Linked DNA regions of Homo sapiens: all the other regions are linked to region 1. Evidence: promoter capture Hi-C in 16 types of primary human blood cells and fetal thymus (Javierre and others, 2016). All regions are on one chromosome and are shown on one strand. The core of a region is centred on a gene start or on the middle of the fragment in contact, and the rest is flanking DNA. Distances in the headings are between cores, read along the strand shown.

The links. Contacts are between HindIII fragments. The CHiCAGO score rates a contact against its expected background, and 5 or more counts as called.
Region 2: a fragment that was not itself captured here is called in contact with the fragment with the promoter of UQCRFS1 in region 1 in 3 of 17 cell types (naive CD8 T cells, total CD8 T cells and monocytes); the score reaches 5.3 in naive CD8 T cells.
Region 3: a contact is called between a fragment that was not itself captured here and the fragment with the promoter of UQCRFS1 in region 1, in 7 of 17 cell types (naive CD8 T cells, activated CD4 T cells, total CD8 T cells and 4 more). The highest score is 11.1, in naive CD8 T cells.

What each region holds. Positions count from the first base shown.
Region 1 is chr19:29,211,289-29,215,152 of GRCh38, reverse strand. UQCRFS1 (ubiquinol-cytochrome c reductase, Rieske iron-sulfur polypeptide 1) reads left to right here and starts at 2,002. Exons shown (of 2, transcript NM_006003.3): 1 at 2,002-2,248. The coding sequence starts at 2,035. UQCRFS1-DT (UQCRFS1 divergent transcript) reads right to left here and starts at 1,900. Exons shown (of 2, transcript NR_184022.1): 1 at 1,745-1,900. RefSeq lists an enhancer at 1,819-2,058 and a silencer at 2,099-2,408. The HindIII fragment of the contact is 13,970 bases long and covers 1-3,864 here.
Region 2 is chr19:29,956,809-29,960,672 of GRCh38, reverse strand. All of the region lies in intron 1 of URI1 (URI1 prefoldin like chaperone), which reads right to left. It also overlaps the pseudogene RPL9P32. Among named protein-coding and RNA genes, the nearest start is that of URI1, 17 kb to the right of the region's middle. The HindIII fragment of the contact is 2,245 bases long and covers 1,042-3,286 here.
Region 3 is chr19:29,934,698-29,938,561 of GRCh38, reverse strand. It overlaps a transcript of URI1 not described here. Among named protein-coding and RNA genes, the nearest start is that of URI1, 5.6 kb to the left of the region's middle. The HindIII fragment of the contact is 153 bases long and covers 1,987-2,139 here.

The DNA of each region.
Region 1 (3,864 bases), core at 753-3,252:
TCTCTGTTTTACAAGAGAAAGACGGAGGCACACACAGAGATTAAATAACTTGCCCTAGGGCACAGCTAGTGAGTGGTGAAACTAAAATTGAACCCAGGAGGTCTGGAGATAATTCCTATTCTGTTCACCCAACTGGGACATTGTGAAGGTTTTGTGAAGGATCATTCATTCATTCATTCATTTTTCATTTCCTTACCAACTCAGAGGGAATTGTGATATTATTTCTTGTGAAGCACTCAAACCATGCATGCTGTGTGACAACTTCTCTGGAAATGTCTTTTATCCTAAGGTTGTTGCCAAGGGAGAGCACTGAGCCAGCTGTGTGATGAGCCTGGCTAGGGTGGCCCCTGAGGAGGCAGCCTCCAATCTTGAGAGTACAATATAGTCCCTTGGGCTATAAGGCTGGTCAAAGCCTAGGCCCTAAGGGGAGTCATAGGAAGGTCAAAGGGGAAACCTGTCAGTACACTTTGGACCTGGCATGAGGAATAACAACGAGTCAGCAAGGATCAAGGGAAGGCTTCTTAGAGGAGGTGGCATCTCAGATAAAAACACCACTAGCAAATCCTCACTTGGTGCTGCCTGTGTGCTGGGCCTGCTTGTAGATGCTTTACACGTTTTAGTTCATTTACTCCTCCCAGTAACTTTACAACACACATGGCATCATTACTGCCCCCATTTGGCAGGTGAGGAAACTGAGGCACAGAGAGGTGAGGGAACTTGCCCAGATCACAGAGCCCATGCACAGCACAGAGCCAATTCTGTGCACTGCTTATATTAACATTTACTTAATATTTAAATTATTTTTGACCTAAATGAAAAACTTTATCTCAGTATAGTACAGAATAGAAAACCAGTATGGATAGAAAATCAATACTATGAACCATATAATGAAATCACTCTAGACTCAGTTCTCTGCTAAGAGCTTCTAACTCAAGATCTTTTCTGTTAAAAGTGGGAGATAAGTGTAGAGAGGAATTAAAGATATATTAGGATCAAACTGAGGCCAAGTGAATTTGCTCATGCCTATAATCCCAGTACTTTGGGAGGGGGAGACAGGACTCCTTGAGGCCAGAAGTTCGAGACTGGAGTGGGCAATATAGTGAGACCTCATCTCTACTTTTTTTTTTTTTTAATTAAAGATGTATTAGCACCAAACTGAGACTTTCTCATTGGTGCAATCAGGATTGAAAAACAAAACAAAAGAAAACAAAACTTTCTCACTATGTGATGGAACATGAATGAGCGAGCTCTGTGCATCCTCTAAAATTCTAAAATCCTACTTTGGGAAACAGTGGTGGCACTGAAGAGCATAGACTCAGGAGACAGATTACCCTGCTTCACATCTTGCTGGCTATCCAGTTCCTGGAAAAGAATCTCTCTAAACCTCGGTTTCTTCATGGGTAAAATGCTGATAGTAATAGCTCTGACTTCATAGAGACCTTGATAACAAATGAAAGAACGTAGGTATAATAAAACGCAAAACCAAATACACAGTGAATACTTAATAAACATAATCCATTAGCATTATCGAGCTTTGCACAGATGCCTCTGGCCTTTTTGTTGTTGTTGTTGTTAGATGAAGATAATAAAAATCATCATAGTAAACACATAGCGATTACTATGTGCTGGACTTCGTCGTAGTTGAGATATATTACCATCCTAAGTTAAACTATAATCGTTTATTGTTATCTCTAGGTCTTCCTAGATGAAATTTTTACCCTAAAGGATCGTAAAGTCGGCCCACCGGACGTCAGTGGGGTCCCCTGTTCAGCCCTCTCGTTCTTCTGGGGATCTCTCGGGACACTGACGAGGTGGCACCGGGACCTACAGGTGGGCCGCAAGCCCCGCCCCCAGCGACGGCTTGTAGCCCCGTCCCCCGACGCAGCGCCTCTCCAAGTTTGCCCCGCCCTGCAGGACTGCAGAATTTCCTTTCCGGCGGCGCGCTGTCGTCACGCGTCCCGCGCCTCCTCGCGCCTGCGCCGTGGTTGGAAGGTCGTCCCTGTGACCGGCTTGGCGGTTGGAGCGGCTGTCGCCATGTTGTCGGTAGCATCCCGCTCAGGCCCGTTCGCGCCCGTCCTGTCGGCCACGTCCCGCGGGGTGGCGGGCGCGCTGCGGCCCTTGGTGCAGGCCACGGTGCCCGCCACCCCGGAGCAGCCTGTGTTGGACCTGAAGCGGCCCTTCCTCAGCCGGGAGTCGCTGAGCGGCCAGGCCGTGCGCCGGCCTTTGGTCGCCTCCGTGGGCCTCAATGGTGAGCCGGGGCGAGGGCCGCGAGCAGGGCTGGGGGTCTCTCGGTGCCCGCTCCTCCGGCCCCCAGCAGGGAGCGGCCGCGGGCGCGCGAGCGGAGCCTGAATCAGGTCGGGCTGGGCGGCCTCCGCAACTCTGGGCCTGGCCCCCGGGCTCGGGGCGTCTTTCTGGTGGCCGGCCTGGACTCGCGTCCGCCGGCTTCGCCTGGTTCCTCCTCGGCCGAGTTCACGAGCTCTGTAGTCCCGCTGTTCCAGCCACCTCTGAGGGGTTTTGTTGCTTGCAGGTCGTTTGACCTTGGGCGAGTTTCTAAACGTACTTCCTGTGAAATGGATTCATATCTTTATCAATTTTGTAGGGGTGTCGTGAGGCTTAGGTGGAGGAATTCTACGTAAAGCCGTTAGCACAGTTTGGGCACTTACATGCTTAAGAAATGGAAACTTACTAATATTTGGGAAGTTGGTCTTCTCACCACTACCGATCCCTTCATGTCCTTCCCCTTCATCACCCCCCCACCAAAAAAAAAACAAAAAAAACATACACAAGGTCAGTTACAGTGTAGTGTCACAACATAATCAGTCGTCAAGGACGGGCAGAGATTGACGACATTTACATTTTACAGATGAGAAAACAGACGAGGTAGAATGACTCGCACCAGGATCCGTGGTGTGGACATGTGGTAGCAGGGATTTGACAAGACGAATTGTCGTAGCCACTGAGCTCTTCGCAGGGGCTATTCCACACCCTCTGTCCTTAGATCCCCGTTTATCTTCTTTGCCTCGCCTTCCATCTTTACTTGGCCCTGTATCGGAGATAGAGAAATGGCAGCCTGTGGGCAGTGTGTCTGCAGGCTGTGTAGTTTTCAAAAAAACTGGGAAGACTAATGGCATCTCTTAAAATGCTGGAAGCCGGTAATACTGGGATCTAGTTTCTACTTGGGAAAATTCCATAGTGTGCTGTGTAGTGGCCGCCCCCGCAGTTGGAGCAAGTGGTCTTCTCCAGTTTGTCACAGTCTTTACCAGGTCTGCGTGTTTCATTCTGTTACCAGCCTGGCTCCACTGATAGCTGTTTGTGACTCTTCCCCTACACGCTAACCAAATTGCCCGCCACTTTTCTTTTTACTCTGTCTTCATTCACCCTGGGCTCTGCACTTTCTTCATGGTCCTTCCACTAAGTTGCTACATGTCCATATGTTTTCCTTACCCATCTTTTCAATCTCAGTTAAGGATCAGGTGAATAAAGTTTTTATTTGCTGATTTGTCTGTCTCTGTAGCACATACACTTTACACTCTGTATTGTGTTTATTGGTAACTCCTCCACCCTTGGGCTTAAGGGCATAGAGAAGGTAATATCTTCTTTATTTTTCTATCTTTCACAACGTCGGATTTTGTATACAGTTAGTGCAAAGTATTTGTGAATGAATATTTGTTAAGGAGCATCAGTGGGTTTTGAAGAAACTGTCCATGGCAGGTGTAGAGTACCCTAGCCCATCCTTGGGACCTGGAGGTGAGAAGGAAGGAAGGAGAACATTTCAATAGCAAAAGAAAAGCATCTTTGGAATTCGTCGTGTTGCTAAAGTTTCTTCAAAAAATTGGAGGCTTACATTTCTCTGATGGCCAGTGA
Region 2 (3,864 bases), core at 915-3,414, 750 kb before region 1:
TTTATAAGACACACTTCGAACCCAAAAGACTGAAGTTAAGAAGATTTTTTTTAAAGATAGACAAAACAAACAAATTTAGCTGGTGTGACCATACTAATACTAATATCCAACAAAGGAGACTTGAAGGCAAGTAGCATTACTAGAGATAAAAATATCTCAGAATGGTGAAAAGGTCAACTGACCAGGAAGTTTTTACAATTTTAAATTTGTATACAATGAATAACATAGCTGTAAAATATATAAAGCAAAGGTTAAAAAAAGAGAGAAAAATAAATCTATAATCCTAGTGACTATTTTAATACATATCTCAATAAATGATAGAATTAGCAGACAAAAAAATTAACAAGGACATAAAATACTGGAACAACATATTCAAGCAGCCTGAACTAACAGACACATACTGAACCCAAAAACTGCAGGATTAACATTTTTTTCCAAGTAAATTATGAAAAATTTACCAAGAAAAAGAAAACATTAGGTCAAAAGGCAAGACTTAAATTTCAATTATGCAGAATGTGTACTCTGACCACACTAGAGAAACAGAAAAATAAGTAGAAAATAATGTTTGAAAAGGAATGTATTTCCAATTTATGGGTCAATGAGCAAATCACAATAGAAATTAGAAACTATTTTTAAATGACTGATAAGGAAAATGACATACAAAATGTGTGCAGTACCTAAGGCAATGATTAAGAGAAAAATTTAAAGCTCAAAATGCATATCTTATAATAAGGAAAGGTTAATATTAGTAACCTCAACCATCATCTCTAAGGGCTAGAAAAATTACAGGCAAAGGAAAATCTTAAACAGGAAAAAAGAGAGAAGAAATCAGTAAAGTAGAAAGCAGACTTAGAAAAGAGGAAAAAAATCAAAGGCAAAAATATAAAATATAAAATTGATAAACCCTTAAGAAGAGAAATCAAGGGAGGAAAAAACCCACAAATTAAAAATTACAGTAATTAAAAAGAGGACATCACCACCAAATCTACTGATAATAAAAAGATAACAGGATATTATGATAACTCGGAGGGACAACAAGCTTGAAAACTTAGAAAGGACAATTCCTTGAAAATCACATTTTCTAAAATGATATAACTAGAAACAGAAAATCTGGATAGTCTTTGAACTTTCAAAGAAATTGAGGTCGTATCTTAAAATCTCCATACAAAATGTCCAAGAAAAATATTGGGCCCAGACGGCTTTGTTGATGAACTCTTCCAAACATTTAAGTTAGAAACAGTACGAGCCAGGCACAGTGGCTGACTAGCCTGTAGTCCATCATTTTGGGAAGCCAAGGCAGATGGATAGCTTGATCCCAGAAGTTCAAGACCAGCCTGGGCAACATAGTGAGACTCTGTCTCTACAAAAAATACAGAAAAATTAGCCAGGCATGGTGGCGCATTCCTATAGCCCCAGCTACTCGGGGAGACTGAGGCGAGAGGATCACCTGAGCCTGGGAGTTCCAGGATGCAATGAGCCAGGATTGGCCACTGCACTCCAGCCTGGATGAGAGCGAGATTCTGTTTCAAAAAAACAAAAACAAAACACACACACAAAAACCAATAACAACAGTGTATAAACTTTTATAGGATATACAAAAATGGGAGTTGTTTCATGAGACCAGCCTAATTCTGAAGCCAAATCCTTACGTCGACATTACAAGAAAAGAAAATCATAGGTTTAAGGTAGTGTTAATGTTTTTTGTTGTTTTTTTTTTGAGACGGAGTCTCACTTGCCCAGGCTGGAGTGCAGTGGCGTGATCTCAACTCACTGCAACCTCCACCTCCCGGGTTCAAGCAATTCTCATGCCTCAACCTTCCGAGTAGCTGGGATTACAGGCCCCCGCCACCACACCCAGCTTATTTTTGTATTTTTTGTAGAGATGGGGTTTCACCATGTTGGCCAGGCTGATCTCAAACCCCTGACCTCACGTGATCCGCCCACCTCAGCTTCCCAAAGTGCTGGGATTACAGGTGTGAGCCGCAGCACCCTGGTAGAGTTAATCAAAAAAAAAGAAAAAAGAAAAGAAAAGAAAGAATTACAGAATTTTGCCTCATGTAACAGAACAAAATACCTTAATAAAATATTATCAAATTTAATCTAGCAATATACAACAAGGTAAACACATCCTCTACAAATGGGTTTGCTGCAGGAATGCAATGGCATTTGAATATTTTTAAAGAATCAAAGTAATTTACCATATTGTTATCTCAAGAAACATAGAAAATACATTTGATAAAATTCAGCATCCATTAATGATAAAATTAGCAACAGGAGAAAATGTCCTTATTTTCATAACGAGTAGCTACAAAAAGCCAACTACGAACATCTGTATGGTGAAATACTTAAAACTGCCCTCCTGGTATGTAAAGCCCAATGTCCTAACTTTTATTTTACATTATATTAAAGGTTCTAGCCCATACAATAGGGCAAAAAACAAAACAAAACAAACAACCATAAAAAAAAACTTAAGAACTGGAATGAATAAAACTGTCAGTATTTACAAACAACATGCCTGTATGTAACTACACAGATACTATCAGAATGTACAGGCAAGTAATTAGAATTCAAATAAATTTAGGCCAGGCATGGTGGCTCACACTTGTTGTGGTCCCAGCACTTTGGGAAGCAGAGGCGGGTGGATCACTTGAGGCCTGGAGTTGGAGACTAGTCTGGCCAACACAGCAAACTCATCTCTATTTTTTAACAACAACAAAAAATTTTAGAACAAAGTCAATATGTAAAAATCAAGTATGTTACCAGCAAAAAAAAAAAAAAAAATGAATAGCAAGTAAATTACAAAAGGCAACAAAAAATAGTATCTAGAAATAAATCTAACACATGAAGATTTATATACTTTTAAAAGCTAATACTAAAAAGTTATAGAAGTAAATAAATTGATATACCATGTTCATAGATTTTAAAACTTAATATTGTAAACATCTTAATTCTCCTCAAACCGATCTTTAGATCCAGTGCACTCCAAGCAAAACCCCAGTAATGTTATTTTTTGAGTATTGGAAAGGTGATCCTAAAATATATACAAAAAAGCAAAGGGTCAGAATAGTAAAGACAATCTTGAAGAACAAAGTGCTAGAGGAATTTTACTACTAGATATCAAGACCTATTATAAAGCTAAAATAGTAAGAGTGTGATACTGGTGCAATTACAGGCAAATAATCCAATGGAACAGAATAGAGAAACAGAGCTACACACAAATAATCACATAATTTATGAAACAGACAACATACTCCATAAGGATTACTCTGGCTGCTAAAAGAAAGCTTAACCCCCTCCAGAATCCCTAGAATTTTTTGTTACAATATCTGGCATCCAGTTCAAAATTACAAGGTACAAGGCAATCTATAAAAACAAAAGCGGCTATAAAGAAACCAAGGGGAAGGAATAAAAGCAGACCTTCATTTGATTGACATATTGCATTTATAAAATATAATAGACTTTATGATTAATACATTCATGAAAACAGAAGAAAAGTTGCAGATGTCAACAGAAACTTGGAATCCATTTTAAAATTTCAAAACATAAATTGTATTTCTTTTACGGTTTTCCTGCTGATAAATCCAAAAGAATTATAAGCAGGAAAATGACAAAATGACATCATCCAATTTGCATTCTTAAAAAGACTACTCTGGGCCACTTTTTTTTGCTGCGTTTACTGTGAGAATGAAGACCATTCTCAGCAATCAGACTGTTGACATTCCAGAAAATGTCAACGTTACTCTGAAGGGACGCACAGTTATCATAAAGGGCCCCAGAGGAACCCTGCGGAAGGACTTCAATCACATCAACGTAGAACTCAGACTCCTTGGAAAGAAAAAAAAGAGGCTCCGGGTTGACAAATGG
Region 3 (3,864 bases), core at 814-3,313, 720 kb before region 1:
TCATAGATGTTGGAGTCAATAGAGGGCCACTAACATGGTTTGGATATTGTTCCCTCAAAATCTCATGTTGAAACGTGATCCCTAATGTTGGAAGTGGGGCCTAGTGGGAGGTGTTTGGGTCTTGGGGGCGGATCCCTCATGAATGGTTTGCTGCTCTTCTGCAGTAATGAGTTCACATGAAAGCTGGTTGTTTAAAAGAGCCTGGCACCTCCTCCTTCCTCTCTTGCTCCCTAGCTCTTACTTCCACTTGCCATGTGACGTGCAGCTCCCCATTTGCCTTCCACCATGATTGGAAGCTTCCTGAGGCCTCACCAGAAACCGAGCAGGTGTTGGTGCCACATGCTTGTATGGCCCACAGAACTGCGAGCCAAATAAACCTCCTTTCTTTACAAATTACCCAGCCTTGGCTGGGCACAATAATTCACATCTGTAATCCCAAAACTTTGGGAGCCCAAAGCAGATGGATCTCCTGAGGTCAGGATTTCGAGACCAGCCTGGCCAATATGGTGAAACCCCATCTCTACTAAAGATACAAAAAATTAGACAGGCAAACCTCATGAGACATGAATAAACAGCCAGGGGAGTTCTTGATGAAAAAAGAGGCTGCTGGTTGTTGGTAAGAGAACAGCAACAGGGTGGATGCAAAACAGCTGCCATGCCCCATTTCTCAGCCCTCACCCTACCATGAGGCTGCAGGAATAGCTTTCCTGGAATGGCTGGCTGGTTGCAAGGTGGGCAAGATGACCCTTGTCCTCCAAAAATTGGGGCATTTTTGAGTCCTGAGGGATTAGCACAGACTCCTGTATTGGTTTCAGCCCTCTTGTGCTTCCTATGGCAGCATCCATCAGGAGATTTGAAAGTAAAGAACACCTTTTTGTAGCCAGAAATTTACAGATATCATTTCCAGGTCACTGGTTGCCTGTAAAGATTATGAAACAAAAACATCAGTAACCACATGCAATAAGGACTACACACTTTGCAAACATAGTTTGGAAAAGTCTCTAAACAAACAGATGGCTGCAACCCTCAACAAGCAAAAATCAGCAATCCCTGAAGAGGAGGAGAATCTGATTTTCAGAGTTACTACAATAATACCCAAAATGCCAAGTGCTCAACAAAATATTACAAAGCATACAAAGAAAAAGGAAAGTATAGCCTATTCACAGGGGGAAAAAAAGAATTCAATAGAAGCCATCCCCAAGGAAGCCTTTACATTGGAAACATTAGTCAAAGACATTAAATCAACTGTCTTACACCCAATGAGCTAAAGGAAACCAAAATAATATATGAACAAATAGGGAAGGCCAATGAAGAGATAGTTTAATCTTATAAAAAGGAACAAAATAGAAATCCTGGAGCCGAAAAGTACAATAGCTTGAACTTAGAAATTCACTAGAGAGATCAAAAAGCTGATCTGAAGAATCAGGAAGAAGAAAGAACCAGTGAACTTGAAGATAAGGCAATTGAAATTGTCCAGTTGTAAAGAGAGAAAAATAAATAACGAAAAATAGGCTGGCCATGGTGGCTCATGCCTGTAATCCCAGCACTTTGGGAGGCCGAGGAGGGTGGATCACTTGAATTCAGGAGTTTGAGATCAGCCTGGCCAACATGGTGAAACCCCATCTCTACTAAAATACAAAAATTAGCCAGGCATTGTGACGCGCACCTGTAACCCTAGCTGCTGGGGAGGCTGAGGCCAGAGAATCACTTGAATCAAGAAGGAGGAGGTTGCAGTGAGCCAAGATCATGCCACTGCACTCCAGCCTGGGCAATAGAGTGAGACTCTATCTCAAAAAAAAGAAAAGGAAAAATGAACAGAGCCTGATAGATCCATGTGATGCCATCAAGCATATATCAACATATGCATAGTAGAAGTTCCTGAAGGAGAAGAGGAACAGGAAGGGACAGAAAAAGAAATTTGAAGAAATAATGGCTGAAAACTTCCCAAATTTGATGAAGGATATGAACATACACGTCCAAGAAGCTTAACAAATTACAAGCGCGAGAAACTCAGAGATTCATACTGAAACTCACAGCCAGATTGTCAAAAATCAGAAACAAAAAGAGAATCTTGAAAGCAGCAAGAGAGGAACAACTTGTAAGGTACAAGGAGTCCTCAGTAACATTAATAGCTAAGCTTTCATCAGAAACCATAGAGGGGCTGGGTGCAGTGGCTCAGGCCTGTAATTCCAGCACTTTGGGAGGCCGAGGTGGGCAGATCGCCTGAGGTCAGGAGTTCGAGACCAGCCTGACCAATATGGCGAAACCCCATTCTACTAAAAATACAAAAATTAGCCAGATGCGGTGGTGGGCACCTGTAATCCTATCTACTTGGGAGGCTGAGGCTGGAGAATTGCTTGAACCTGGGAAGTGGAGGTTTCAGTGAGCCAAGATTGCACCACTGCACTCCAGCCTGGGCACAAGAGCAAAACTCTAAAAAAGCAAAACTCCATCTCAAAAAAAAATTTTTTTTAAGTGCCGGGCACAGTGGCTCACGCCTATAATCCCAGCACTTTGGGAGGCCAAGGCAGGTGGATCATGAGGTCAGGCATTCTAGACCAGCCTGGTCAACATAGTGAAACCCTGTCTCTACTAAAAATACAAAAAACTAGCCAGGCGTGGTGGCGGGTGCCTGTAGTCCCAGCTACTTGGGAGACTGAGGCAGGAGAATTGCTTGAACCTGGAAGGCAGAGGTTGCAGTGAGCCAAGACGGCACCATTTCACTCCAGCCTGGATGACAGTGTGAGACTCCATCTCAAAAAAAAAGAAAAGAGAAAAGAAAAGAAAAGAAAAGAAAAGGAACCAGAGGCCCAGAGGCAGTGGAATAACACAGTTAAAGTCCTGGGGAAAAAAAAAAAAAAGACTGTCAACCAAGAATTTCCTACCAGACAAACTATCCTTCAGGAATAAAGGAGAAATTAAGACATTTTCAGATAAATAAACGCAGAGAAAGCTCATTGCTAGTAGCCCTGCTCTACAAGAGCTGCTAAAATGAATCCATCAGGCTGAAATGAAAGGAAACTTGATAGTAATTCAAAGCCATGATGAGAAAAAAAAAGAACACTGATAAAAATAGTAACTACATACATCAGTAAATATAAAAGCCAGTATTATTGTAGGTTTTGTTCATAATACTTTGTTTTTCACCTATCATTTAAAGGGCAAATGCATGAAACAATAATTATAAATCTATGTTAATGGGCACAGAATGTATAAAGATATGATCTGGGACAATAATAATATAAAGAGGGAGGGAAAGAGATGTATAGGAGCAAAGTATTTGTATACTCTTAAAACTAAGTTAGTATTATTCAAATTAGGGTGTTATAAATTTAAGATGCTAATTGTGATCCCCAAGGCAACCGCTAAGAAAATAACTAAAAAATATACAGACAGGGAAAGAAAAAAGGAATCAAAATGATACACTAAAATCTATTAAATACCAAAAAAATGTAGTAGTGGAGGAATTGAGGAACAAAATTTAAAAAATGTACAGAAAAGCAAATAGCTATTAAATAAATGGCAGAATTAAATCCTTTATTGGTAATTACTTTAAATGTAAATGGACTAAACTGTCTAATTAAAGGGCAGAGATTGATAGAATGGATTTCTAAAAATTATTAATTTATATGCTGTCTGCAAGAGACTTACTTTGGATCAAAAGATTCGAAAGGATGGAAAGTAAGAAAATAATATGGGCATGTTGGCTTATGCCTGTAATCCCAGCACTTATGCTACCAATCCCTGGGAAGCCAAAGCAGGTGGATCACTTGAGCCCAGGATTCAAGACTATCCTGAGCAACATAGTGAGACCTGGTCTCTAAAAATAAATAAATAAATAAATAAAATTAAAAAAAAATAAGC